Regions from separate parts of the Homo sapiens genome. Here all the other regions are linked to region 3. The links are contacts of gene promoters, found by promoter capture Hi-C in blood cells and fetal thymus (Javierre and others, 2016). All regions are on one chromosome and are shown on one strand. The core of a region is centred on a gene start or on the middle of the fragment in contact, and the rest is flanking DNA. Distances in the headings are between cores, read along the strand shown. Region 1 overlaps MAP2 (microtubule associated protein 2). Region 2 overlaps FASTKD2 (FAST kinase domains 2). Region 3 holds the start of IDH1 (isocitrate dehydrogenase (NADP(+)) 1). Region 4 overlaps FASTKD2 (FAST kinase domains 2). Region 5 holds the start of ZDBF2 (zinc finger DBF-type containing 2). Region 6 overlaps DYTN (dystrotelin).

Evidence for each region. Contacts are between HindIII fragments. The CHiCAGO score rates a contact against its expected background, and 5 or more counts as called.
Region 1: a fragment that was not itself captured here is called in contact with the fragment with the promoter of IDH1 in region 3 in 1 of 17 cell types (M0 macrophages); the score reaches 7.3 in M0 macrophages.
Region 2: a contact is called between a fragment that was not itself captured here and the fragment with the promoter of IDH1 in region 3, in 3 of 17 cell types (naive CD8 T cells, non-activated CD4 T cells and total CD4 T cells). The highest score is 8.5, in naive CD8 T cells.
Region 4: a fragment that was not itself captured here is called in contact with the fragment with the promoter of IDH1 in region 3 in 4 of 17 cell types (total CD8 T cells, naive CD8 T cells, total CD4 T cells and 1 more); the score reaches 9.1 in total CD8 T cells.
Region 5: the fragment with the promoter of ZDBF2 here is called in contact with the fragment with the promoter of IDH1 in region 3 in 2 of 17 cell types (total B cells and non-activated CD4 T cells); the score reaches 5.8 in total B cells.
Region 6: a fragment that was not itself captured here is called in contact with the fragment with the promoter of IDH1 in region 3 in 1 of 17 cell types (total B cells); the score reaches 5.6 in total B cells.

Annotation. Positions count from the first base shown.
Region 1 is chr2:209,522,949-209,527,481 of GRCh38, reverse strand. The region is part of intron 2 of MAP2 (microtubule associated protein 2); the gene reads right to left. Among named protein-coding and RNA genes, the nearest start is that of MAP2, 100 kb to the right of the region's middle. The HindIII fragment of the contact is 871 bases long and covers 1,815-2,685 here.
Region 2 is chr2:206,786,707-206,791,460 of GRCh38, reverse strand. It overlaps FASTKD2 (FAST kinase domains 2), which reads right to left. Exons shown (of 12, transcript NM_001136193.2): 8 at 4,562-4,728; 9 at 3,306-3,524; 10 at 2,558-2,642; 11 at 775-889. Among named protein-coding and RNA genes, the nearest start is that of MIR3130-1, 5.8 kb to the right of the region's middle. The HindIII fragment of the contact is 5,023 bases long and covers 427-4,754 here.
Region 3 is chr2:208,251,649-208,256,320 of GRCh38, reverse strand. IDH1 (isocitrate dehydrogenase (NADP(+)) 1) reads left to right here and starts at 1,250. Exons shown (of 10, transcript NM_005896.4): 1 at 1,250-1,382; 2 at 2,362-2,435. IDH1-AS1 (IDH1 antisense RNA 1) reads right to left here and starts at 1,088. Exons shown (of 2, transcript NR_046452.1): 1 at 890-1,088; 2 at 127-418. RefSeq lists an enhancer at 1,016-1,542 and a silencer at 1,996-2,105. The HindIII fragment of the contact is 4,060 bases long and covers 1-2,980 here.
Region 4 is chr2:206,769,430-206,773,677 of GRCh38, reverse strand. FASTKD2 (FAST kinase domains 2) reads right to left here. Exons shown (of 12, transcript NM_001136193.2): 3 at 3,484-3,587; 4 at 2,388-2,496; 5 at 1,661-1,784; 6 at 1,358-1,497. Among named protein-coding and RNA genes, the nearest start is that of FASTKD2, 5.9 kb to the right of the region's middle. RefSeq lists an enhancer at 2,780-3,979. The HindIII fragment of the contact is 4,118 bases long and covers 1-3,332 here.
Region 5 is chr2:206,272,599-206,276,928 of GRCh38, reverse strand. It overlaps ZDBF2 (zinc finger DBF-type containing 2), which reads right to left and starts at 2,266. Exons shown (of 5, transcript NM_020923.3): 1 at 1,983-2,266. RefSeq lists an enhancer at 1,409-1,908 and silencers at 1,572-2,031, 2,312-2,371. The HindIII fragment of the contact is 6,855 bases long and covers 1-3,045 here.
Region 6 is chr2:206,685,721-206,690,184 of GRCh38, reverse strand. All of the region lies in intron 9 of DYTN (dystrotelin), which reads left to right. It also overlaps the pseudogene VPS26CP1. Among named protein-coding and RNA genes, the nearest start is that of DYTN, 30 kb to the left of the region's middle. The HindIII fragment of the contact is 1,117 bases long and covers 1,882-2,998 here.

The sequences.
Region 1 (4,533 bases), core at 1,001-3,500, 1.3 Mb before region 3:
GAGGGGAAGACCAGACAACAGTAGGCATCGGTGTATGCGTGAAAATAGTGACTAAATTCATATTCATTGAACAGATATTATTGAGCAACTATGATGTGCCAAAAACTTGGCTAGATGTTAGGGACTCATCAGTGATCAAAACAGAAAATGTTCCTGCTCTATGAACATTCTAGTTAGGTGAAACAATAATTAATTGTACAAAAAAATATATCAGATATATCAGTAATATAGAAATGCTATGGAGAAAAATACAGGGTAGAGTAAGTGAGGATTAAGTGTTCTTTTTTATTTCTACACAGGGTGATACAGGAACGATGTCCACCAGATATCACACTAAGAACTGCCACAAGAAAATGAGACAATTCTAATGTGTAACTTTGCAATCACTTTTCTCCCAGATGCCAGGATTAGTATAAAGAGCTCCAGATAGTGAGGGTGCAGAATTCATAAAAGTCCATCTGCCTGGAGCTCTGTCCTATTCATATATTCACAAGTCTCCTGGTTTAATTAAGTAAATCTGGGAGAGAAGAAAAAGTATTTGTTGGTTTTGTAGTCAGTCAGCTTTACAGATTCCCCACTATATTCCATCATAGATCTGCCATGGATGATCAAGCTTAGGAAAGACATTTGTACATCTTATATCTCAGGTATGAAATGAAACTTTTCTAACACATGACCATCATCAGAAAACAGGGATGCCGTTAGATTTAGTTACAGTTCTTATTATAGCAGCACTTCCTTCTTTCACTTTCAGGGTGGCAAAAAATAGGACTTAGGTCAGCTAATACTTCTGCAAGGATCTAGTATGAAGATAATCTAGTTAGAAGACACTGTTTGGTTAGTTTTCAATGATCCAAGGAAAGATTTGCCCCAGGGAGAATCCTTGCTCTTTTAAATTTATAAATGCATATATCCTAAGCAAATACTCACGTATTTTACCCAAATAAATCTAGAGTGCTCTTTAAAAAAAAAAGAAAGAAAAAAATAAAGAAACAAACCAAAAAACGAAAGCCTGAGAAAGGTCTCTCAGCCTCCCCCTTCTGTATTTCTCTCTATGTACTCACATGTGGATATTAATTTTATATTCTTTAAATTGGATTTCCCTCCACTTCCAGAATTCTCAGGCACTCAGACATTTAGTGAAATATGCTATTTGCTTTTGTATATTATTACTATTTAAACTCTTAATTTTCTGCATTTTCATGAGGTCACTTCCTAGACTCCTAGTTTCCTCTTTTAAACCACAGCTGCCTCAAGCTGACTATGCTCAAAAGAATAGGACTTATGAAAAAAGTAGGCATTGCTAATCCACTGCTAGTTGAAAATACTTTCTGAATTATCAGACCTTCTGTAAAAAGCCCATGATATGCTTCATTATGTAAACAAACCTCCTCTGTGTTGCTTTTTAAGCTTGAAAATATCAAAATCATGACATAACATGAGAAGAATTCCATTTTGACAAAATGAAAAACACAAAAATTCTTCTACCCAGAAAAAAAAGAAACAGAATGTAATGGGGGAAAATAAATGCAAAAATAGAATTGGCTAGAAACCAGCAACCACAAGAAAAGAAATATGACAGGAAATGGAACTAATCAGTTACTATAGTGAAGAGTTTTTTCCCCAGACTTTCTTAGGAGAAAAAGAGAAATTCTAAAGAAATGTAGAAACTAAGAGTTTGGACAAAGTTATTTATATAATCTTGAACTATACAAAATTCCCTGAGAATGTATATGTTTTTTGAAAGGACAATGGAGTTTTTATTTAGCGGAATTTTGAAAGTTTATCTTCTTTGGGATTCTTTTGGTAAAGCTTTAGTTAGAAGGGTTGGAACTTTTGAGGAGTAATTTCTATATAACTACACTATGATATCTTTTTCCAGAGGCAGAATTATCTTCCTTTCTAATTCAAGGCCACTCGAAGGCTTAGTCCATGCAGGAATGGGCTTGCTTTGTCAGAACCCTCTTCAGCTCAGCAACAGACATTGCCAACAGATTAGCCTTCCGTGAATAACAATTCTTCATACACTGGAAAATTTTTCACATGAAAATTGCTCCTTTGGGTTATTCTCCCATTACAACTTACTTTTATTATTGGGTTATTTTGGTATAGACTATATCAAGTTTTTTAGCTGTTTTATGCCTAGATAAAATTAGAAGACGTCATTTCTAAATATAGATATGAAAAATTAATCTCTATATTAAAAACAAATTTAGAAATAATTGTCATTTATTTGCTAGTTGTTTTGTGACTCTAAGTTTTAAAAAAATTAGTAGCTAATTCACTTAACAAAAGTCATTTCCAAAATGTTTGACAACCTCTGAGCATGTCTACAGAGATGGTAGATACAGAATAGTCTTTATTTAATTTCTAATATCCTACTGGAAAAATATGGATAAAAGCTAGAACGTATATTAAAAATAATACGGCTCATCTCCATTTAATTTATATACAAGAAAACCCAGGTCTCAAGATTTGAATTTCCTTATTCAAGGTAACACAGCTGCTTAGCAGACGAGACAAAAATTGAAACCAGGTCTCTGGATCCCAAGGGACACTGATGGTCCCTAATTATCATGGGGTAAGAGAGATCCACCAACAACCAAATAACAAACACAACAGGTAATGAATTGAAAAAAAAATTGATATTAACTTTTTTCACACCCTTTGTAATCCATAGAAGCTTATTCATAAATAAATTAGTGAATGTCTTGTGATTCAATTGAACCAACATTTCCCAGTGTTCAGGCAAGACAGAAAGACTGAAAAGAGGATGAATGATGAAAAGGTTCCTGAGTCAAAGTAATTTATTGAATTTTTCTTTTTCCAGCTCTATTATTTTACACATATAATAATGAAAGTTGATGAATGTATACTTTATGCAAGTGTGTTACATATATTACCTGGTAACATATTATATTGTATAGTGTATTGCATGTATTACCTTATTTATTTCCTTTTATTGCTATTATCTTAATGTTTAATCTCATGTTTCGAGGCTACTAACATAGCAATTATCATAAAGCTAACAGCCAGCATTTGAAACCAAATCTAAATGATTCCAATGTATATCTCTATCCAGTGAATTATATTGCTTAATTGTTGAAAACTCTCCCTGACTCTGGATTATGTGTGTTAAAAATAAAAAAAAGAAAAAAAAGAAAAAGACTAAAGAAACTACTTCTGCCTGTTGAAAAAAATCATATTTCTAAAATTAGATACAAATAACTATTAAAATTGATTCTAAATTGGGATAAATAAGATAAACAGGACTTTCAAAATGAATGCCTTTATGCATCACTGAGCATCTAAAATGCCTTCTCAAGGTTTCCATGCCAACCTTTCTAGAATGCTAAAATAAGCTGTGAAACAACATTTACTCATACCACAATATGTAGTTTTTGATGCACTAAATTGTTTCGCTGCATTTAATAAAAAAAAAAGCTCAAATAAATTTTGAGTATTTAGCAAATGGGGGAAGTAAAAATGGTACCAGTCATCAGTGAGCAGGCAAACAATGTAACTTTTGTTTGTCTAAATGAGACAAGCCTTAAGAAGGACTTAAACGGAACTTTTCATTTCTGCTAACATCCTTTTTATGTATATCCATAGTTAGTCATCGCTTTTCAAAATAGAGTTTTATAAAAGTTATGTTTAAATTATAAACAACACTAAGCACTTAACACTGAATATATAAAAGACAAATTTGGAAATCTAGGGCACTTCAATCTTTGATTCGGACCACCTGGCAAGAGAAAAATAAATGAATAAAAAGCCAAATGGAGCTGAATAGGTCTCATGCAGTTTGAAGAGATTTCTTTTTACCTGTCAAGCTCCTTAAAAGTAAATATTGCAGTTTGACTGCTGAATTACGACAGGAGCCTCCAGTGGAGAAGCAGCAGCTCCTGCAGGCTGGAAGAGATGGGCAAGAGAAGGGCCTAGCATTTGGGTCCAGCCTCCAGCATGCAGAAGACGTAGGCTGAGGAGCTCAGACAGGGTGGTTAGAAAGGGAATACTCAGGACAGCAATAGAGAAGGGCACACAGGGCGCTGGAATAGTAACAGCAATCCAACAACAGCAATGAGAGTAAGAGTGAATGTGGGCAACATCATAAACACTAAAATTATATCAAGCAACGCACTAAGTTCCAGAAAGACAGTAATGACAAGCCATGTGTGGTCTCTGACTTCAACAACTAGGAATCTAATTAATCTTTAAAACATGTTGATTAGGGAGGGAGAATAAAGCGAAATGCCATGAGAGATTGCATTCGGGGTGTTATGGGAGTGCACAGTGAGGGCATCTCGCCCACTGTAGGAAAGACGGCTCTGAGTAACTGAGGTCTAAGCATTCACTCCTAACAGAAAAAAACATGGAGAATAAAAGGAGGAGAGATGGCAGGAAATAAGGCTGAAGAACCATTTACTGACTTAACTAATTTAAGCTGAATGCAAATGTCAGATTTTAATTTGTCCCTTACCAGGTTTTTAAGTATGTAATACATCATATCTAAAGACCAATATTGGCAACCAT
Region 2 (4,754 bases), core at 1,689-4,188, 1.5 Mb after region 3:
GTGCAAAAACTGCTTTCTTGAGAAAATCTTCCTTAGAATATATATAATCAGCAATATAAAAAACAAAGTCTTAAATAGTAGCCCACTAAGAGAAAGGAGTCATCTTAATCTCAATAGTCCACACGTAATCCATTTCCAATACTAAAGTATAATAATAGAAGACTTGGAATGTTTACATCTTACATTATGCGCAGGACCAAATGAGTGGCATTTAGATAGATTCCAACAGCAACATATATATAAATGTATTTGTAAGGTTCCTACTACCTAGAAACATCAGAAGAGGCTGTTCAAGAGAAGCTGTGGGGTACAAAATAAAATTGAAGCATAAGAGGGAAGAGAAAGACCCATCTTCTTAAAACCATCCAGCCTTTTCTGGCAACAAACATCCTGTAACAGCTTCACACAGGCCATGAAAACAAAGCTTTAACATCTTTCCTTCCCTTGTTCAAGATAACCTGGAAATTAAATATGGTTTTGTGTATCTTAAATATGAAAATATATTATTTGCATTCTTCTTCTTAGCAAAAAAGGATTAAAGCTGACCAGAACAACATTTGTAAAAGCTCTAGTAATGACAGTAATCAGCTGAGCAGAACCCAAATCGTGTACTAGCAATGTTCTTTTTCAAAGAAAACAGTAACTAAAGCACTCATTCCAATAATGCTGACAATTCCTCTAGTCCTAGTAACCAGTCTCAACCACAAGATTCCTGGCAGCTGTTAGAATGTACATCAGTAATTAAAGAATATTTCATTTGCATTTTTTTCTCACCAAGATCACATGAAAACCCATTGCATTCAAATGCCGCATTTTCATAGCAAGGAATCCTCTGGGGTGGCTTGAACCCAAACAATAAGCAGATCTGGAAACACATAGCACAGCTACTCTGAAAACAAAAATAAACAAAACAAGAACAGTTATTGATATTACTATTTAGTCTTGCTGCATTCTTGTTCTCTGGAGATTTCCAAGTTGAGCTCTCCACCGACCACAATCCTTGATATTCCTGTCTTAGTCCTTCACTTCTTTTACTTGGCCTCTGCAGATATTCCACTATACAAGGCTACTTTATAAATCAAAAATATACAACATTATACACAGTTACCTCTCAGTTCCCTTTAAGGATGGCTACATTTTTGAAGAGGAAAATTTTCAGACATGAAAGCACCAATTTTAAGGGTTTTCTGTGTAGTGCTGATTTCTGATCTGAGTATAATTATTTATTCTACCAGTAGTAGTAACGGTGTAAATAATACCAAATAGTAAATGCTCTTCTTACACATATCATCTCCCAGAGAAAGCAGCATTTAAAAAACAGAAATAGGAGTTTAAATACAAGAAAGAAAACACCAAGAGAAAGGCAAGACTGTTAAAATAAAATCTGTAAATATAACGAAAATGTGGAAGGTGTAATTTGTTTTTTCATTGTTCCTGGCACTTTGGAAATACTAAGTTTACTGGGAGAAAAAAAGAAAAAAAAAAGACATTTATATCCTTACTGCCTTCACCTATACTCTGGCTGTTATAAGACAAATTTTATGTTTTTAAAGGAATGCTCACATTCTTCACTTCTCATGACTTTATGCTGAGAACAACTGTTATTTTATTATGCCAGAATAGCGGAGTACCCGAAAAAGAAAACTGATCTTGGAATGAGGTCAGAGAGAAAGCCTCTTCTGAGGGGAGATGGGTAGCACTAATAGGAAAGACAGCGGTTGAAAAGATGGCCAAGAAATAAGCTAGATGCATTCAGAAAGAGGTGAAAGTCACAGAACTGTGTGTGAATGAAGAGGGATGGGCAGATAAGAGCTTGGATCCCTACAGATTTTTTTGTATGTTTCTATCATATTTATGTGTGTGTGTGTGTCCAGTGGAGTTAACAGAAGATACAAGTTCCTTGGGGTCAGGATCCATGTAGCAGAGCTTTTACATAAAGGGTAACTGACCCACGGGTGTGTGCAATGATGGCATGATCTTATGCATCTACTGAAGAGGCAGGATGTTCTCTCATGGTATAGCATCATATTTCTCCCCAGAGACACTCTATTTGTAATGTGTGAGCCAAAGAAACAACTTAGGATTAGCTTCAATGTGCTCTAACCCATACAAATACAGTTTAATTAAAAAACTACGGTTTCTCTACCTCTGGAAAAGTCTTGGTGGTAGAGCAAAATATTTATTGGGTATTTGATTTTTGTAGAAGCCTCGAGTCTTTATTCTTTATGATCACTATTATATTATCTTGTCCAAAGTCTACACTGCATTGATAGTTTCAATTATATTAATATTGTTTTATTGAACTATAGCTTCAAAACCTAATTTTAAAAAAATGTCTGTCTCATTAAATGACCAATACTGTAGTCCATTGTATTCAACCATAACGTCCACATTTACACTTTCTAAGGAGTACATTGATGGATGACAAGTCTCTTGGTGTGCTGCAGGCTCCATACAAACATCAAGTCTTAGATTTACTACTGCTATTTAATATGAAGTCTTTTAGAATTAGGATTTTAATTCAGAAAGCCCAGCAAATGAAATATATGTAAGCAACCTTTGAATATCTGTAGCAGAAGTTGTATCCACATCAGAAAGTGGTAGCACTTGATTCCTGTTAGTGTCCATTCTGATTTCAAAATCTGAAAGGAAAGAATTGATATTAATTTTTCAAACATTCCTCCAAGTGACTTTCTTTTTCTTTTCTTTTCCTTTTTTTTTTTTTTTTTGAGATGTGGTCTCGCTCTGTCATCCAGGCTGGAGTGCAGTAGTGTGATCTCAGCTCACTGCAGCAACTTCCCAGGTTCAAGCAATCCTTTTACCCCACCCTGTTGAGTAGCTGGGACTACAGGGGCATGCCATCACGCCCATCTAAGTTTTGTATTTTTTTGGTAGAGACAGGATTTTACCATTTGGTCAGGCTGGTCTTGAACTCCTGAGCTCCAGTGATCCACCTGCCTCGGCCTCTCCACATGCTAGGATTACAGGCGTGTGCCACCGTGACCAGCCCCAAGTGATTTTCTGTTTCAAAATGTTTAATAGTACTACCAATAATGATAATAGCAGTAGCTAAAATATATTGAGAGCTAACCATGTGTCAGATACTAGTCTTGGGATTTTAGACACATAAAAATGTGTAGAATTTCATTTATTGGTCACAAGAATTTTATGAGGCAAGAATCAGGCCAGTTCCAGAGGCAATGCTGCACTACACTAAACTGCTGCCACAAATACCTATTTTTTTGGTCAGAAAAAAAGGAAAATAAATACAATAAAATGAAAGGAAATCATATAATGTCCCATACCAATATGATAATTGTGTGGCAAGTGCACATCCTTTGAGAAGTGTCCTTCACCTCCCAGAAGGCTGCTCAGCACCTCTGCCACCTTTGCATTTGTATGTGACGATGGCAGCTCCCGCGGCAGCTGTGGGAGTGACAAGGCTATGTCCCTCAGATAGACAGTATCATCAAGTTTTAGACAAGTATCCAAAGTATGCAGCTTGTAAGCATTCTTCATGTCATCTAAAAGATGAAAAAGAGAGTATATCATTAAGAAGAAATAAATGCAACATTAAAAAACTATATTAGTATATATTTAGTAATAGTTATAAAATAATAAATATATACATAAATGCACTTGTATTTCTAATTATCTCTTTCTTATCACAAGGACTCTCTCTTTGTCTCCCTGGTTTCCACAGGGTCTAAATCAAAGCCCTGCACTTGATAATGTTTTAAGGCTTCAAATATCTTTAGAGGTCATTTAGTCTAAACTCCTCAATTTATGGATAAGGAAATGCCCAGGAAAGTTAAAAAGCCTCGTAATTAAGGCAAAGTTGGAACTAGAATCCAGGTTTCCAAGGTTCAAGGCTGTTTCTCCATTATTACACTGCCTGAAAAACCAGCACGTGGTATTATTGACTGACTCTCTACAACTCAACTTTGGGATTTTATAACATTTATTTATTTATGTTTTAATTCTGAACTACTCTATTCTCAGACACATCGTCAAATTTTGTACATCTACCTGAATATTGCTTTGCCTTATTTAATACTAAAGACTAAAAGTCAACAGTTAATTTGGTTCCAAGAGTAAATGAACTAATTAATTTGGTGGCTATTTGGTTTCTTGATCTAACAGGTGTTCCCTCATCACAGGCCAGGAGTGACCAAGTGTTTACAGCTGCAAAAATTGACTTAGGTTGGCTTCAAATGTGATAAGTAAGGATTAGGAATTAAAACAGCTCTGATCAAAGCATAAAGAACAGCCTGAACAGTTAGCCTTTGTATAGAAGGATAGAGTATAAATAAAAGGAATAATGATGCATTCCTTATTTTTTTCTACATGTAGGACTTGTCATTAAAGAAGGGTCTGTAGGTTTGCTGCTTTGAAGCACTATCCTTTGACTTCACCATTATCAGCCCTTTCCACAGCAACACCTGCTCTGCAAATTTCAACTAACACTGCTCCAACTAAGACCCCATTCAGAGTCATATGGTAGCTAGTGGTAGTGCAGAATTGGTCACAATTGGTGACCAATTCTGCACTAACATCCTACCTGATGTCAGCAGCTCACTGATGATGTCTTTTTGCAGAAGCTGATTAAAAGGAGCCAGGGGAAAGTAATTCATCAAGCAAAATGAATATACTGCATCCAATAAGTTTTCAGAAGAAATAGTGTGAAGATAACCAGTCAGAGCACTAGCCATAACTTCCACGAACTGTCTGGGGAACAAAGAAAAGTCAGTTTC
Region 3 (4,672 bases), core at 1-2,500:
ACTTGAACCCAGGAGGCGGAAGTTGCAGTGAGCCGAGACTGCACCAGCCTGTCAGGGCAAGACTCTGTCTCATAAATAAATAAATAAATAAATAAATATTGGAGCATTAAATTCTGGGCAGCAATATACAAGCATGCTATTGTCCTACAAATCACAATATAAAATACTCTTTATTTTCATGTTTTTGAGAGCAATGAACACACAAAATATAATCTCTGGAGGAGACTAAAATTCTTTTTTCAATCCACCGTTTTCTAAGGCTTCACATCTCTAGTCCAACTTCATTGGATCACAGATAATCCCCCGCCAACTGAGCATGGTGGCTCACGCTTGTAATCCCAGGACTTTGGGAGGCCGAGGAGGGCCAATCACTTGAGTCCAGGAGTTCGAGACCAGCCTGGGCTGCTGAAACCCATCTCTACCAAAGGAAAAAGAAAAGAAAAGAAAGAAAGAAAAATTAGTTGAGTGTGATTGTGTGCACCTGTAATCCCAGCTACTCGGAAGGCTGAGGTGGGAGGATCTCTTGAGCCCAGGAAGTCAAGGCTGCAGTGAGCGGTGATCGCTCCACTGCACTCCAGCCAGGGCAACAGAGCAAGGCCCTGTCTTAAAAAAGAAAATAATAAGAATCCCATTCATTATCTTCTAATGCAAACAATCAATGGAGTTTCTAAAGACCTAGACATAGGTGGTGTCAGGACCTGCTTCTGTAACTTTTCCATCCTTTGCATTAGGCAGCGCGGAACCCCCTAGGCGACCCCGCGCTGGCCGGGAGCACTCTTTCTTCAGCCAAAGGTACGTTCCATTACCGCCCCTCGGGGGCGCGCTAGGCAGCGGGCCGGCCAAGCTGCCGCCGCCCAGGGCGCCCTGTCCCGTTCGCTTTTGTGCCGACCTGGAAACACTCTGTGGTGCTCTAGATTGTTACAAAGTTCGGGGTGGTGCAGCCCCAGCGCGCCCCGCTCCCCGGCCTGCAGGTGGCATACAAGTCTCTTCGCTGTCGGGATTCGGGACTGAATCTCTGCCGGGCGGCAACCCCTTCCCCCACCGGGATCACCGGGAAAGTGGCACCATGGATTCTCCATCTTTGACTGTGGCCACGCCCCTCTCGCTGACTCCGCCCATCCCACGGGAATTGGCGTGTGGCGATTGGAGGCGTGTCGGGGGCGGGGCTGGGGGAGGTGGGCTGAGGAGGCGGGGCCTGGGAGGGGACAAAGCCGGGAAGAGGAAAAGCTCGGACCTACCCTGTGGTCCCGGGTTTCTGCAGAGTCTACTTCAGAAGCGGAGGCACTGGGAGTCCGGTTTGGGATTGCCAGGCTGTGGTTGTGAGTCTGAGCTTGTGAGCGGCTGTGGCGCCCCAACTCTTCGCCAGCATATCATCCCGGCAGGTAACCTCAGGCTCCAAGGGGCGGCCCCGGTCCCTGGCTGTGGAGGGGTGGCTCTAATTCCGCAGAAGGCAGGAATGGGGTAAAGGAAAAAAGCGCAGATCTTGGGTGTGGAGGGAGTCAAGGCCTGCGTGCAAAGAAGGGAACAAATCCAGGTATTGAGAATGGGAAAAGAAAAGGGAAGGAGGGGATGCTGGATGCTTGGATATGCAGAAGGTCTGCTTTTGGGCCTGGGAGGGAGAAACTGGGCGGTGAGGAAGTTGGATGCAACGACAAGGGGAAAATCAGGTCTGCACTTGGGTTGGAAAATCGAGGGGTGGAAGTTGCAAGAATGCATGTAGAAGACTAAGCCTGGAGTGTAGGAGGAAGAAAACGTGCAGCAGCTGGGGGCTGGATGCAAAGAAGGCTGTAAGCCGCAGACGGGCGTCTGCAGGCAACTCAGGCGGCGAGGAATAGCCTTGAAGCCGATCCCTCGCGTCCGCCAGGGGGCGTGGAGGGGCGGAGCTCCAGCGGCCTTCAGAGGGGTCGCTAGGCCACACGGGGCGAGAGGGGGCTGGGGGAAACACCCCCGCCAGTTCCGGGTGCCTGGAGTTTAAAAGGTCCCAGCACCAGCGAGGGGAGGGGAGGGGAGGGGCGGGCGTGGAGACCTGGAAGGAGGTACCGATCCAGCCTTGATTGCAGCCCTCTTGCACAACGGCCATAAGGACGGGTGCAGGCCAAGAGCAAGGACATGCAAACCCCAAGACCTGCTAACGGGCGGCGAAGCGGGGGCACGCCCTCGCACACGCAGAGATAAATTGTGCTCCCATGACCTTTATTTGGAAAGTGCCTGCGGGCCTAAAATTGGCCTTTGTCCCACCGAGTACACTCAGCACTGTACTTTAAACCGGATAAACTGGGCTGTCTGGCAGGTACTAAAAACAGCTAAATTCTCCTGTGAGTGTTCTGTATGTTAACACTTTTATTCCTTGTTTTGTTTTAGGCGATAAACTACATTCAGTTGAGTCTGCAAGACTGGGAGGAACTGGGGTGATAAGAAATCTATTCACTGTCAAGGTGAGAATTAGCAAATTTTCCCCCTTCTTCTGTACTTTCTTTGATGTGGCAGTACAGTGTTTAACTGGTCTTGGGGGCAGGCCGAGGCACTGCAAGGGAATGAGTGAGGAATATTTCCAACAACGAATTCCAACAGCTTCCTTGTTTCTTTTAATACAGTGTCTTATCTGCAAGAGATCCTTTTTGCCCAGAAATTATTGTAGTTCATGAACTCGGCAAAAAACAATCTGGCCAAAAACTTGAGGTTGATGAAAATAATATTAAATGGCTCTTTTTTTTCATTAAACTACTCTGTATTGTTATTCCAGGTTTATTTTCTGGAATTGCACAATTATGTTAGGAGATAGGATTCAGCTACTTCATATGAGCTGGTGCCTGCTGGTCTTGGAACAGCCCTTCCTTCTGAAGTTGGGATTGGGTTGGAGACAAAATCTGAGGGGCAACAAAGGTGGAGAAGTCAGTCCAGTGGGGCCTCAAGCCCATCCCATGGAAATCAGATCCAGAAGAAATACAATTATGTTCCACATGGTAGTAACAATAAAGCTTCACTGTTTTAGTTAAAAGATGGTAAAAATTTCATGGCTAAGTAATGTGAGGAAAACCTGAAGCGTCTGAAGTATGCATTATGAGATAAAGAAAGATTACTGCAGAGAGTACAGTTGCTTTAACTGAGAAGGAAATAGTGAACTAAAAAGATATCAGTCTTCACATTTTAGGTACAATATTTGACCTCTATTAACTGTATTTGCCATCAAGAATAAATTGCCATGTCATGACTGTTGCATCATACTATATAGGGACATGGCCATGGAAGTGTATTATCAGGAACCAGATAAGTTCACTGCCTCCTTTTTTGCTTTGTTTTAAAACAAGGATAGGTGTGACAGTGGAATCAAACATGAACTGAATCATATGCTTTCAGCTGTACTACAAATTATACTTGACATTACAAATGGGAAGTAATTGACTCATCCACACCATTCTGTTCATTTCTTTTAGTCTAGTTCAGTTCCAGAAGGTTCCCCCAAAGGAATCTCCTAAACACTAGTAAGAAGAATTCTAGAATTGCGAATTTGGGAAGTGAAAATGGGCCTGGGGATTGGAAATACATCCAGGCTTGTCAAGAAACAGACGCTTACTGTCTACTAATCATTACATTTTTATTTAAAGACCAAATTACTTTAGCTCAATTTTTCAAGAAAGACTATTTTAGGCTTCTTATCTAATAATTCTTTAAAGTCAATTCTCTTGACTTTTTTAGTCCTTAAGAGAATAAAAGCAATTTGCAGCTGTGTTGTTGGATTAAAAAAGAGTTTCGATTAGAGCATCATTAGAAGGAATAGATAACTTTTAGCAGGCTCAGAGCTTCTTCTGCCTCTAGGGACAAGCTGGGACAGTTTCATTTCTTCCAAAGCGTCCAACCTTGCACTTTCTGAGAATCAGATTGATTTGTATATGCTACCCCCACACCCTATCCTTAAAGTGCTGTCTTCCTAGGACAATGCACAGTTTGTCCTATCCCACTCACTAGCAGCTTACCCTTGCCTGTGAACAGCCAGAAGAAGATGACAGGGACATGCTTGGGTCCTGGGCAGTGGCCCTACTGTATAGAGATTCTTCTAATTGAGAAATCACTTTGTTGTATTTAGCCCCACATCTCCAATGTCTGTGTTATCTCTAGGAAAACAGTTCCACCAGGAATTCTTCGTCTCGCTTTTAGACTTAAAGTTTCCCTGAATATGGGTCACAGGAACCAGCTGAATCTCCTCATGGCTAGTTATTTTTATTAAATAACAAAAACAGCCTCTTAAAGGAGGAGAAATGCTAGCACTCACCATTCTGGACATCTTGAGAGCCCAGTAAAATGATGAGTTGGACTGAAGTGTTCAATAAACATGAGATTGTGGAAATAATCTCATTTCTTAAGACAAACCAGTAGTTGAGAATAATGATTGCATTATGAAGGGCACGTTATAGGGTCAGGCTCTGCCACGCTCTAGCTAGGTGGCCTTGGGAAAGCTCTTTTTTTTTTAACAAAGTAAAATGGGGAAATGATGGCCATTTTTTTGGATTGTTATGAGGGCTAGCTCAGAAACCGCGTGTGAAACATAACACAATACTTTGTTCAGAGAAGATACTCAATTCTAATGGTAAATAGAATTGCTGTTACTAGCTTTTTATTCAACTACACATAAATTGAATTGCATGAATTGTTCTTTTAGTAGTCACTACGTTGT
Region 4 (4,248 bases), core at 24-2,523, 1.5 Mb after region 3:
TTACTTCTCTTTCTATAACCAATTTCCACAGTAAACTCAATATTTACCTTACTCTCCAAAATAAACTGAACCTAGAGATCTAACAGTTATCACCTATTTCATTGCAAAAAGAAGTTTTTACCAGGTGCTTCATTAAATGTTTATATTCTTAACACAGCTCCTGATTTTAAAGGCTTTTACTCTGGATAAAACAATGGACATGACCATTAAGTAGTGACATTTTATTCTTCAAAAACCCCAAGCCTGTCACATCACCCATCTTTATTATTTGAAATCTAACAAGAACAAAGTATAAACACGGAAATCATGCTAAATATCTAACAAAAGTACCATACAACCCTTTTTTTTTTTTTTTTTTTTTGAGACAGAGTTTTGATCTTTATTGCCCAGGCTGGAGTACAGTGGCACAATCTCAGCTTACTGCAACCTCCACCTCCCAGGTTCAAGTGGTCCTCCTGCCTCAGCCCCCCTAGTAGCTGGGATTACAGGGACACGTCACCATGCCCGGCTACTTTTTGTATTTTTAGTAGAGATGGGGTTTCACCATGTTGGCCAGGCTGGTCTTGAACTCCTGACCTCAGGTGATCCACCCACCTTGGCCTCCCAAAGTGCTGGGATTACAGGCGTGAGCCACCGCGCCCAGCCCATACAACCCTTTTAAAACGAAAAAGAAGAGCAAATTTTTGTTTCAAATAGAAAGATGACCAAAGGATAGAATAGTATACAGATTGTCCTTGACTTACGGTGGGGTATATCCCAACAAACTCACCATAAATTGAAAATATTTTAAGTCAAAATGCATTTAATACATCCAACTTACTGAACATCATAGCTTAGCCTAGCCTACTTTAAACACGCTTAGAACACTTACATTCACCTATAGTTGGGCAAAATGAGTTAACAAAAAGCCTATATTATAATAAAAGTGTTGAATATCTCAAGTAATTTATTGAATACAATATGCATTGTTTACCCTCATGATTGCACAGCTGATTGGGAGCTGCGACTTGCTGCCACTGCTCAGCATGAAAAGAGAGCATCATACAACATATCACTAACCCAGCAAAACAACAAAATTCAAAATTCAAAGTATGGTTTCTACTGAATGCGTATTGCTTTTGCAACATCAAACAGTCAAAAAATATTAAGTCAAGCCATCCTAAGTTGGGGACTATTCATATTAGCAAGTAGCCCCCAGACAGGAATAATAAGGAGCTAATTTTTCAAAAGTCAATTCAGCATTGGAATATTTTGGTATCTTAACTACTATAAAGGTGAAAGAGAAATACTTAAAATGCTACATGAATTAGTGTTTTAAAAGTTTGTGAGGCTTATTCTAAATTGTTAATGTACTCACTTTTCTGAACTTCCAGATGTCGAAAGTTGCAGCCACATAATCTGCAAGTCCCTTGAAGAGATCCAAATTATGGTACTGGAGGTCTTTGCAGGACTGCAATATGTTGATCATTATTCTTAAAGGACACCCATGGATATTATCTTGAAGAATGAGTTAAATAAACAAACAAAAATTACCTGATTGTTTTGAATACAACATGCTTTATTCTTTTTTCATATAAAAGCAAAGTTTTTAAAACAAAACAAAAATAGTCTAAAACAGAAGCTCAGGTATTGCAAATGATGAAAGAAAAATTCCTCTTACCTAGGACCACCTTACTGCATTCATCCAGGAGTATAAGAGATCGGTGATTCATGGCAGCTAGTACTTCAAACATGTGTTGGCTATTCAAAACAGAAAATCTGTCTAATTCCCTCAAGGCTTTCATCTAAAGAAAAAACAAATTTTAATTTAATTTACTATCTGTGACAAAATAAATTAAACTTTTATTTTTATTGAGACAGGGTCTTGTGCTGTCACCCAGGTTGGAGCCTCAACCTCCCAGGCTCAAGTGATCCTCCTGCCTCAGCCGCCCATGTAGCTGGGATTACAGGCATGCACCACCTACAGGCATGTACCACCACGCCTGGCTAATTCTTTGATTTTTTTTTTTTTTTTTTTTTTTTTTGCAGAGACAGGGTCTTGCTCAGTCACCCAGGCTGGTCTCAAACTCCTGGGATCAAGAGATCTCCCTGCCCTTGACATCCCAAAGTGCTGGGATTACAGGTGTGAGCCACCATGTCTGGCCTAAACATTTATTTTTAAACAAAAAGGATGAAGTTTGGGTAATATGACCCAGACAGATAAATAAATATACATGTATATATATACAGATAAATAAATATAAGGGTACTTCTATTCATTCACTTTAGTGAAGCTAAACCTAAAAGCCCAGCAATGTCCTCCTAGAAAATTGACTTCAGGCAGTGATAGCAGGTTATAAGAAAGATTTTTTCAAATCTCATCCACTAGAGAAAATTCATGTGTTTACCTCCAGTTTCCTCTTAAGAGCAATCGGTGCATCTTTTCCAATACACTTCATCACAACTTGTAATGTGAAGACATCTTCTATTTTCCAAACTTGCTGATCAACTAGTATTCTGTTATCAAACACAATAAATATTAAAATCATAGAATCTTCAAAGCAGAAGAAAAATCTTAAAATTTCATTTGGTCCAGCCCCTTCTTACAGGCAAGGATTATGAAGCCCAGAGAAATGATCTACCTGCTTGAGAGAGTGTAAGTAGTTAAAGATCGAGACCCAATCTATTAATAGTGCTATTTTCTCTCACATTATTGTGCTGTCTTTACTAAAGAACAAATTATGTCAGGAGATTATAGTAACATATCCTATGCATAGTCAATGTCAAAGGGAGTTAAGTTTTACTCTCACTAATCTATGACATTAGATCATTTATATCAATTTTATAAATCCCTTTTCAAGCTGGGTCAACGTCAACCCTCACATAGTCCCCGAATAACTATTCTGAATTAAATATACATATCAATTCTCTCCTACCCCGCATCAGTACTATTTTTTTTTTTTTTTTTTGAGACAGAGTCTCGCTCTGTTGCCCAGGCTGGAGTGCAGTGGCGCGATCTCAGCTCACTGCAAGCTCTGCCTCCTGGGTTCACGCCATTCTCCTGCCTCAGCCTCCCAAGCAGCTGGGACTACAGGCACCCACCACCACACCCGGCTAATTTTTGTATTTTTAGTAGAGACGGGCTTTCACCATGGTCTCGATCTCCCGACCTCGTGATCCGCCTGCCTCGGCCTCCCAAAGTGCTGGGATTACAGGCATGAGTCACTGCGCCTGGCCAGTACTATGTTTTAAAATAAATTAATTTAGATTTCAATGTTACTCACATCTTTGTTATTATGGACCCTAAGAGAAGTATTTCCAGCCTATGTCATCCAGAGTCAGGATTTTAAGCTTAATAAGGTATGAAAGACTGTAACTACCAACAAAGCCTCCCCAACCCCTCCTCCCCTCAAGAAAGGAGTTTAGTTTTCATCTCAATTTTTTTATTCCAGATATATGAGGAACAAAGAAAACCACATGAAGAAAGCATAAGAGAGTTCTCACCTGAATCCCGTTCGTAGAACATGAACATTCTTGCATGGTTCCATTGCCTCTAAAACAGTTGACAAAACTGAAAGGCATATCTCATCACACTCATTGATACGTTCCTATTGAAATATAATTACAAAAACACTACAGGTGATGAGCCCATAGTAAACTATCTTACCCAAGCAAAACCACTGAACTGATGTACTGAATAAAACGATTGAGTATCAAACCAACAATTCCTACAGTCAGTCCACAATAAACAGCATCTTTGGGAAATAAAAAGTCATACTTACTGAATTTTCCAGCTGACTGATACACATCCTTTTATGCATCAACACTTTTTTACCTTCACCATTATCACTGAAAACACATTTGATATTTATTATATTCCACTGCTTCTGAAACAACTTTTATTAAACATTATTTTTACCTCTTCTTGGAATTCAAGGTCATTACAAAGGCAAAAACAGTTAAAGTGCAGGAATATAAGAACTACTGAAGTACAGAAGGTAACTAGCCCATCTCTAAAGATCCTTAAATGGTTGTGCCTTTACAATTTCCCTAGATCCTTTCCTGGGTATCAAGCTGAAACTTTACTTGTGAGTCTTCTGATTCACATCTCCTGCCACATTCTACCACTGCTATCTGGGTCTCAAGGGAAGCCTACACCCCACAGATTCTTCTTTCAGGTCCCTTTACTTAGGGTACTAAGTTTGATTCCAGAAATAGTGGGCATAATCTGGAAAGTGAATAGTAACAACACAGCTTAACTAGCAGTAC
Region 5 (4,330 bases), core at 1,017-3,516, 2.0 Mb after region 3:
TTTCAATTTTCCCCTTTTCTGGATTATCCACGCTATGCTGGCTTTCCTCTGGTGACAAGCATTATCCTAGACACCTCTATTCAGTCTTAATAAAATAATAATAGCTAATACTTAGTACTTAATCTGAGCCAGGCGCTCTGTCAACAGCTTCCTGTGCATTATCTCATCTAAATAACAAACAGCTTTATAAGGTAGCTGCCATGATTAATTCCCATTTAACAAATCAGGGAACTGAGGTTGAGAGAAAAGAGGTATCTTGTTGCAGGTCTCACACCAATAACCAGCGTAACTGAGATGTGATCACTGGTCAATTTGAGTAGTTTATGCTTTAACCTCTTAACGACTTAGACACTTCCTCTCTGTATTTTTAGGAATACTACTTGTTTTAATATTAGGTGAAAACAAATAATTAGGACTCTTATTTGCTGCAATCAACATCACCACTATTCCAAAGAAAAAATAAAACTAATGTCTAGTTTAATTGCATCTTGCTCATTTGAGTGCTGACAGTACCTTGGATTAGCGACTCTCAAGATTATTTAACATGACACACAGGAACCAATAAATTTTTAATTACAACCGAGCACACACGCACAGGCACATACGCACACTTAAAAGATTTTTCACAAAACAATACTCTCATTACATGTAATGCAGTCTGATATTTTCTATGCGATCTTACTTTTTTTAATGCTAGTCACGACCCACTAAATTTCACAATGCACACGCGCACAGTTAAAATATTTTTCACAAAACAATACTCTCATTACATATAATGCATTCTGATTTTTTTATGCGATCTTATTTTTTTTTAAATGCTAGTCATGACTAAATTAATTTCACCATTCACGAACCGGCTGAAAAAACTCAGTTTGAAAAAACACTGCCTCCAATTATTATGCAGAGTAAACCATATTTTATAGAAACCAGTTCTTACCCTGAATTCAGCTTATTTCTATCCAAATCACTGGCCACTGCAGTGATACTTTATCAACTCTCTAACGAGTTGCTTTCTTGCCTTCTAGGCTTTAGGTTCAAACGATAGAGAAAAGGTCTTCCACGTATTAAGTGAAAAAAGCAAATAAACACCCCTTATGTAACACACGTATATATGTTTGTGTATTAATTAAAAAGGAAGGAAAGATACCCCCCAAATTGTTAGCAGATTCTCTCGAGGATGAGATCGCTACAGGCTGCCTCCATCGTCCCTCCCCCTCCCCACACGTAGCATATTGCTGTAAAAAAGAAAAACAAAAACAAGCTATTTCCTTTAGGTGGGGGTGGGGTTTTGGTCCCTTGAGAACCAGTATCTTGTTATGCATTTTTTTCACGAGCTACCAAGAATCATCGCGTGAGATAATCGCAGGAGCTGGTAAGGCCCTTCTTAGGAGCAAGTAAAAACGATGGCGTAACACGACCACATTTACACAACTGTTGCACGGCGGTAGTAAAAGAATCATTAACACAAAAATCAAACGTTTTCAAATAAACTATAATCGCCCGAGGCTGGGAAAGGCCTAGGTCTGGGGCCAGCTGGACCCAACGCAGGGCACTGGGGGAAGGGGGTGTGTGGACAGGTGGCTCGGGATCTCGGCCCCACAGGTGCCCAGGGGCAAGACTCCGCGGGTTCCCGGCCCTCAATCCGACCCCGCAGACCGCCCCCTCCCCAAGCCCGGACCCGAGGCCTCGTCCGCCGGCCCCTCTGACCCAGGGCCCCGGACAGAAGCGCAATGCAGCCTGCGCCCCACCTCCTTCCCTCGCCCCGCCACCTCGATCCCGGCCCGGAGCCGCCGACACCTCTCACGCAGCAGGGGCAGAAAGGGACGCGGGGTGGGGGGAAGCCGAGGACCTGCGAGGCGGCCGCGGGAGCCCAGCGAGCGGTCCTGGCGTCCCTCGGGAAGAAGGCGCCCCGGGCGCCCGGCGAGCAGGCCCCGCCCGCGGGCGTCGCCCCGGCCGCGCCCCGCCCCCGCCGCGGCACTCACCTCCGCGGAGGCTGCCCGGATTCCTTCCGGGCCGCGGTGGAGACCGAGGACCGAGCCGGGCGCTCTCCCTTCTTATTCCGGTTCCGCGGCGGCGCCCGAATCCCAGACCGTCCGAGCGCCACGGCCCCGCTGCCCGCGGAGCCAGAAATAGGCGACTTCGGCCCCTGCGGTCCGGAGGCGAGAAGCGGCGCGGGAGCGCGTCTCTCAGGACGCGGGCCCCGAGTCGCGACTCCACTCACGCAGGCATCCAAGGCAACGTGGCGTTGCAACCCTGATGGAGGTTTGACGTCAGGGAAGGTGCGAAAACCAGACCCCTTCTGACGCAGGAGCGGCGGGACCGCCCCCTGCCCGCCCACCCACTCACTCACTCTCCCACCCGGGCGGAGGAGCCCCTTCCTCCCCTCCAGAAGCTCTTAAAGCGGACACTTCCTCCCTGGTCAGGGCCCCACTCCGGAGCTTGGGAAATCTATCGCGTTCCAACAAAAATGACTAGACTCATAAGCACAGTTGGGACGCGAAGTAGAGACCAAGGTTTTAGCGTTTGAGGGTCCAAATAAAAACTGCTTGCCAATTCAAAGCAACGTATGAATGTAGAAAAGAAAACGGGGCTAAGAGAGCTAGTCGTTTCCGTTTCCATGCCTATTTCATAGTGAGGTGCATCTCACAAAAGCTGCTGTTCAATGAGCGCTTGCTCTGTGCTAGGCACCGTTTAAGGTTTCTATACATTATTGCATTTCATTTCAGAGTAACTCTGAATGAATCCTATTATTGTCCCCCTTTGACAAATTGAGAAAACTGAGGCTTAAGGAAGTTAGGTATTCAAAGATCTATCCTGCACATTAAAGGGTTACAAATATTAACAAACAACATTAGGTCATGCAATTATATTCACTGCGCTACCCCATTACGAATATAGTTGTGAGCAAAAACAGTTTAAGTGTAACGGAGATCACAAACCTAAATGAATCACACTACTGAATATGAAATTATAATCTGCGATAAGAAGGTTCTGAAACACCTAAACCAATTTTACTAAAATGGAGAGAGGCCCTGTTGCAAAGCTTATGTCTAATGTAAAAATAATCTTAAAATGAGCTACTTTGCTCTTTGGCTGTAGCTGTAATTGTCGTTACCCTTTTTAGTAAGCTTGTGATTTTGTCCCTTTAAAGAACAACAACAAAAAAACTTGCCTATTGCTTTTGCGTCCATTGTTTTTATTCTTTCTGTATTTCTCAGCTCCTTCTTCCCCCACTACATCTTTCTCTCACTTTAAAGTTGGGCTCCTGCAACTGTTCGATTTATAACCTCCCTTAGATTTAACATACCAAAAAGTACGGATTTCTTTTAAGGCAAGTTTTTTCCACATCCCAACTTTGGAATTATAGAAAATCCACTATACATTGATCGAAGCACCATGACATTATGTATTTCACAGATGCTAAGCCATGTTTTTCCCCACATTTTAACATCTGTGAAATCAAGATGCATCTTATAAACTCTCGTTGACCGGGTGGCAGTACAGACCTGGTTGTCATTACCTCCACGTATTACAACGTGGATGTTGCTGTGCAGGTTGTCCTCATTTCAACTGAGATAAGTGCATTGTTTAATAAAACCCATAACCCTAGGAGGAAGGGAATTAACAGACAAAAGTCACTCAAACTTGGAGAGAGATTTTCCTAGGGAAAGAGGGAAGATTTGCCTGGAGAAGATTTTCCTAGGACCAAAAAGAGATTTCCCCAGCATTTAGAAAAGAAAGAGATGGGACTGGCTAAGAACTAGTAGTCTTCTGGGAGCCCTGAGTTACTTACCAAGTACATTCATTCTTGATGGATTTTGGGAACCCATATATGAACAGTTAAATACTAAGCCTACTTGCACCCCCCAAAAATGAAATAACTTCGATATTATTCTTGATAGCCTGATTAGTCAGTTACAACCCCTACAGCTTTTATTCAATAACACCATTGAAGGAGGAAAACAAGTCCTGAATGTTTTGCGTGAAAACACAAAATTGACATATTCAGGTGAGATCAAGAAGGTGCCAGCATCAAAACTTGCAGAATAAGATCAGCTGCTTGGAAGAAAATCCTGCATACAATAGTGCAGCATTCTTCCTTCCTTTCTCTCCCTCTCTGTTTTTTGTTTTTGTTTTTGTTTTTGTTTTGAGACAGGGTCTCCTTCTGTCACCCAGGCTGGAGTTCAGTGGCGCAAACACGGCTCACTGCAGCCTTGACCTCCCAAGCTCAAGCGATCTTCTTGCCTTAGTCTCCAAAGTGGCTGGGACCACAGGCGTGTGCCACCATGCCTGGCTAATTTTTTTACTTTTTGTAGAGATGGGGGTTCTC
Region 6 (4,464 bases), core at 1,191-3,690, 1.6 Mb after region 3:
AGGTCTTTGCTCAAATGTAGGCTCATCCTGAAGGCCTTTCCTGACAACCATTTACCATTCAACCACTTTCCTCACTCTGGCACTCCCAGTTATCCTTGCTGGCTCTATTTTTCTTCAGAGCACTTAATCACCCTCTGACATCCTATATCTTACTTATTTATTATTTATTGCTGTGCCCCTCTCTATAATGTAAGCTCTATGAGGGGAGGAATGTCCATTGTTTCCAGTTGTATTGCCAGAATCTATAATAATGTCTGAATATGATAAATCCTCAATAAATATTTGTTGAATGACTGACTGACTGAATGAATGAATGAATAATAAAATGTATAGCGCATGATGGAGGGATTGATGGATGGATAGATAAGGTGAACCATGAGCTCTTTTAGAATGTAGCTGGAAAGAATCAAGGAGCTTTGGAACAAGATAATGAGGTTTGACTGAATCTGGAACAGAGACAGAAGCTTTGCCCTCAACTAACCACGTGTGTGGCCATGAGGAAGTCACTTCACTTTTCTAGGACTCAGTTTCTTTACCTGTTAATTGGGATAACCTCTCCTCTCTACTCCCAGAGTAGTATTTCTGGAGGTGAGATGAGGAAAGGGAATTACAAGGGCTGTACAAAGCCAGGGTTCTCTAAACGTCAATGAGTTGTACTCTGTCCACCCCAAGTACAGTAGAGTTGTTCCCCAAAATAACATTCTTATGTAATAATTTTCAGTGTACCCTAGACTTTGATGAGTTCAGAAATTCTGATTTGTGGCTCATCTAGGAGAAAAGAATGTGGAATATTACTAAATCACAATGTAATAATAGTAAAAAACACATCTTTGATATCTATTATGTTGGCACACTAGCACTGACCATCTTCTAAGAGATTAATGGTTATGGCCAAGTGATAATATTGAATTCGTTCAATGATTCAGCAAACTATCTGCATGGTAATAAGCCTTCTCCCTTTTGATGTGGTTTTATTTCCTTTACACATGATAGTTTGCACTGAGAATACTTTCATTTACAAAACCAGAACTGAAAGTTAGGTGCCAAATATCATCACTCTTATTAAATATTTCAGGAAGTTCTTGAAAACATAGTTAAAAAGAAAATTAAACTGCAGAAAAATAACAGACAGAATTACTTCTCTTTGTAGCTAATTTAATTGTGAATTACTAAGAAACCCCAAGTAACTAGCAAAAATTACTAGAATTAATAGGCTTCAAATGATGGTGGAAAAATAAAATAAACATATACAAAATTCTTCACTCTACTAGCAATAACCAGCTATAAATTTTGTAAGAATCTCATTCAAAATACATGTAAAAATTATTTTTAAAAGAAACTACAAAAAAGTTTAACAAAAAAGATACAAGACCCAAATAAAATTATAATATTTTATTGAGTACAGAAAACAAGTCCTGAACAAAAGGAAAAAATGCCAAATTTCTAAATGAGAAGACTAGCATAAGAATGTACCTGCTCCAAAAATTAATAGCTGATTTTTGTTATTTGCAGATTCAATACTTACAAATTTGCCTACTTGCAAAAATTTATTTGTAACCCTAAAATTAACACTCCTGGTGCTTTTTCAGTATTTGCAGACATAAGCAGAGTGGCAAAAAAATTTTGAGTTGCCTGATGCACGTGTTCCCAGCTGAGGTCAAACCAGATAGTGCTCTGTGTTACTGTTTCAGCCCTCATTCTATAAGCAAGTGTCCTTTTCGTGTCTATTTTGTGTCTTGTTTTTTTATATTTGTGCTTTTTGTTGGTGATTTTACTTTGGCAAATGGCCCCAAAGCACGGTACTGAATTGCTGTCTAGTGTTCCCAAGCACAGCAAGGCTACGATGTGCCTTAATGAAAAAATACACACGTTAAATAAGCTTCATTCAGGTATGATTTATATTGCTGTTGACCATGAGTTTAATGCTAATGAATCAACAATATATATTTAAAAAGCATCTTTATACAGAAACACATAAAACAAGGTTGTGCATTGATTGGTTGACAAAAATATTGTGGCCAGAGGCTTGCAGGAACCTAACCCTGTATTTTCTCTAGGAACAATGGGTTCAGTATTTCCTAATTCACTGTTCATGGTAGCCTTATAGAGCATAATCTACTGTATTTAAATTTAATGCATTTCCAGATAGAATCACAAGGTTTTCTAAATAGGATAAAATAATTTTGAAGGTATGTTGGAAGAATAGTTGTACAAGAATAGTAAAATTATGAGACTGAAGAATAGTGAGAGACATTAATATCTGAAGAACAGATGTTAATACAACAGATATTAACACTTACTATAAAACTACTATGACCAAATAATATAGTATAAAACGGGAATGAACATGTAGGTCTAAGGATGAGAATACAAAATATAATAATTGATCTAAGCATATATGGGAACCTAATATATGATAAAGGTGATATTTCAATTCATGGAAAAATAATGCATAATTGGCTATCCATCTGAAAGGAAAATTGGCCCTTATTTTGCCCCATATACTAAAACAAATTCCAAATTGATTGAAATTTAAATGTAAAAAGAATTTAAAATAAATATTAGAAAAAAGAACATCTCCTAAGGAAGAAAGAAAAACAAAAAATCATGAAGGAATAGACAGATATATATGATAGCATGTAATTTTAAACATTTTGTTATGGTAAATGATAGTATAAACAAAATTAAAAATAAGCCCTAGACTTAGAAAAATATTTTCGGTAATAAGATAAATGATGCTATTAAAAGGGTCCCTGAAAAATTGATAAGAAAAACTTGATGTGAGGTCAGAAGTGTTGGCTGCTGTGGAGAATTCAAAACAGGGACCTCCCTGGACATCAAGATGGAAGAGCAAATAGTTTCTCATGCTGGAGAAATGCTCTCCAGTGTGGTGGTCGTATCTTGTAAGGATTCAGTCCCACATCAAGTAGTGTCTTTGACAATGGAAGGAATTGCAATCCCCCAGCTCAGTGCCAAAAGTGTGGGCAGTTTTGAAGCTTTTTATAATTCCATTAAACCTATCCAGATTATCAACAGTGCCATAGAAAGGATGAAGCCAGGGAAATTTCCCTATGGCAAAACAAATTTATTTCGCATTTCTTCTGTATGTGAGGGGTAACAAAGTTCTGTATGAGACTTATTATCAGACATTCAGTATACACTACGCTGTGACATGAGGCAGTCTCTGTTGACCAAGGACTTGACAAAGGCCGGTGAATTTACCATCCACTCTGCTCCTCAGGAGGGGAAGTTGACTCCAAGTCCTGTGGACTTCACAGATTATACCTGCAACCTTACAGAATATCAAAGAGAGAGCCTTGCTCCCCAGATTTCTCATTCGAGAACACCCCAACTCAATGAATTGTGTCATCGTGCAGCTGCTTACAGGAGAGCTGGTGGTGAAAAGGCATGGGGCTGCAACTGGTGCACATGGAGACCTGTGGGTGTGCAAAAAGCTATGCCAATGATGCCACAGAGTTTCCTTATATTCAGATGCCCATGGGGACATTTGTAGGGGCCTCTCTGTCCCTATATACATGGTCTTCTCCAGGCTGTTTACCTGCCGCATGCTGAAGACCAACTTCAAAGTGGAATTTGAGGCCACCATCGACATGCGTCTTCATGCTAACCACCTGGTCACAGAGAACTTCCTATTGCAGCTCTGCAGGACTCAGCCCAGGAGGAGGGAAGCACAGAAAACAGGGGTGGCCTTGTGGATATCCTGCTGGTTATCGTTCATGGGGAACTAAAGCCAGCAGTATATACTTGTTTTTGTGATTATTCTGTATCAGAAATGAAATGGACTCCTTAAATTACAATTATTTTTCCTCCTCATTTCTTCGAGGCTTCTACTTCCAAAAGTCACCTTTAATCATATCTTTTCTTTGAAATTCAACAGAATTTCTTAATGCTGTTTGCAAGATCATTTCACAGAAAACGTTTCCTGTGACTTACCTGTTCTTGTACCAAAAAAGGCACAGAAAACCTGTTGTGACAGCCATTGGAGCTGTGCTGGAAAGTAAGATCATGGGGGCAAAAGGAAACTTCTCTCTGACTCGCTAATAATGAAAGTAGCTGAGCACTCCCCACAGCAAAGGGTCTGTGGCCAGGTGGCATTGCTTATGAAGTTTGTAGATACCCTCCAAGGAAGAATGCAAAGTGGCATCCACTGGAAATGTGTAGCTTTTTTTTTTTTTTTCCGCACTCTATTTCTGTAGTTCTTTTTATAACATTTTTCAATATAACTTCAACATTTTTAGGGAACTGAGAAAAAAGCGTCCCTTGCTCTTATAGGAGTAAGGGGATTTGGCTGGTGCTGGAGTGTTTCTGAACTCTCAAGAACTGTCATAAGAACTCATGCTGCCATATTCCGGGAATATATTTAAATGCAAAGTTATGTAAGGGGAAAAAATGAATGTTTGCTCCTTTTGTTATAGGGAGGGTTCTGAATGGCAGGAGCCCCGT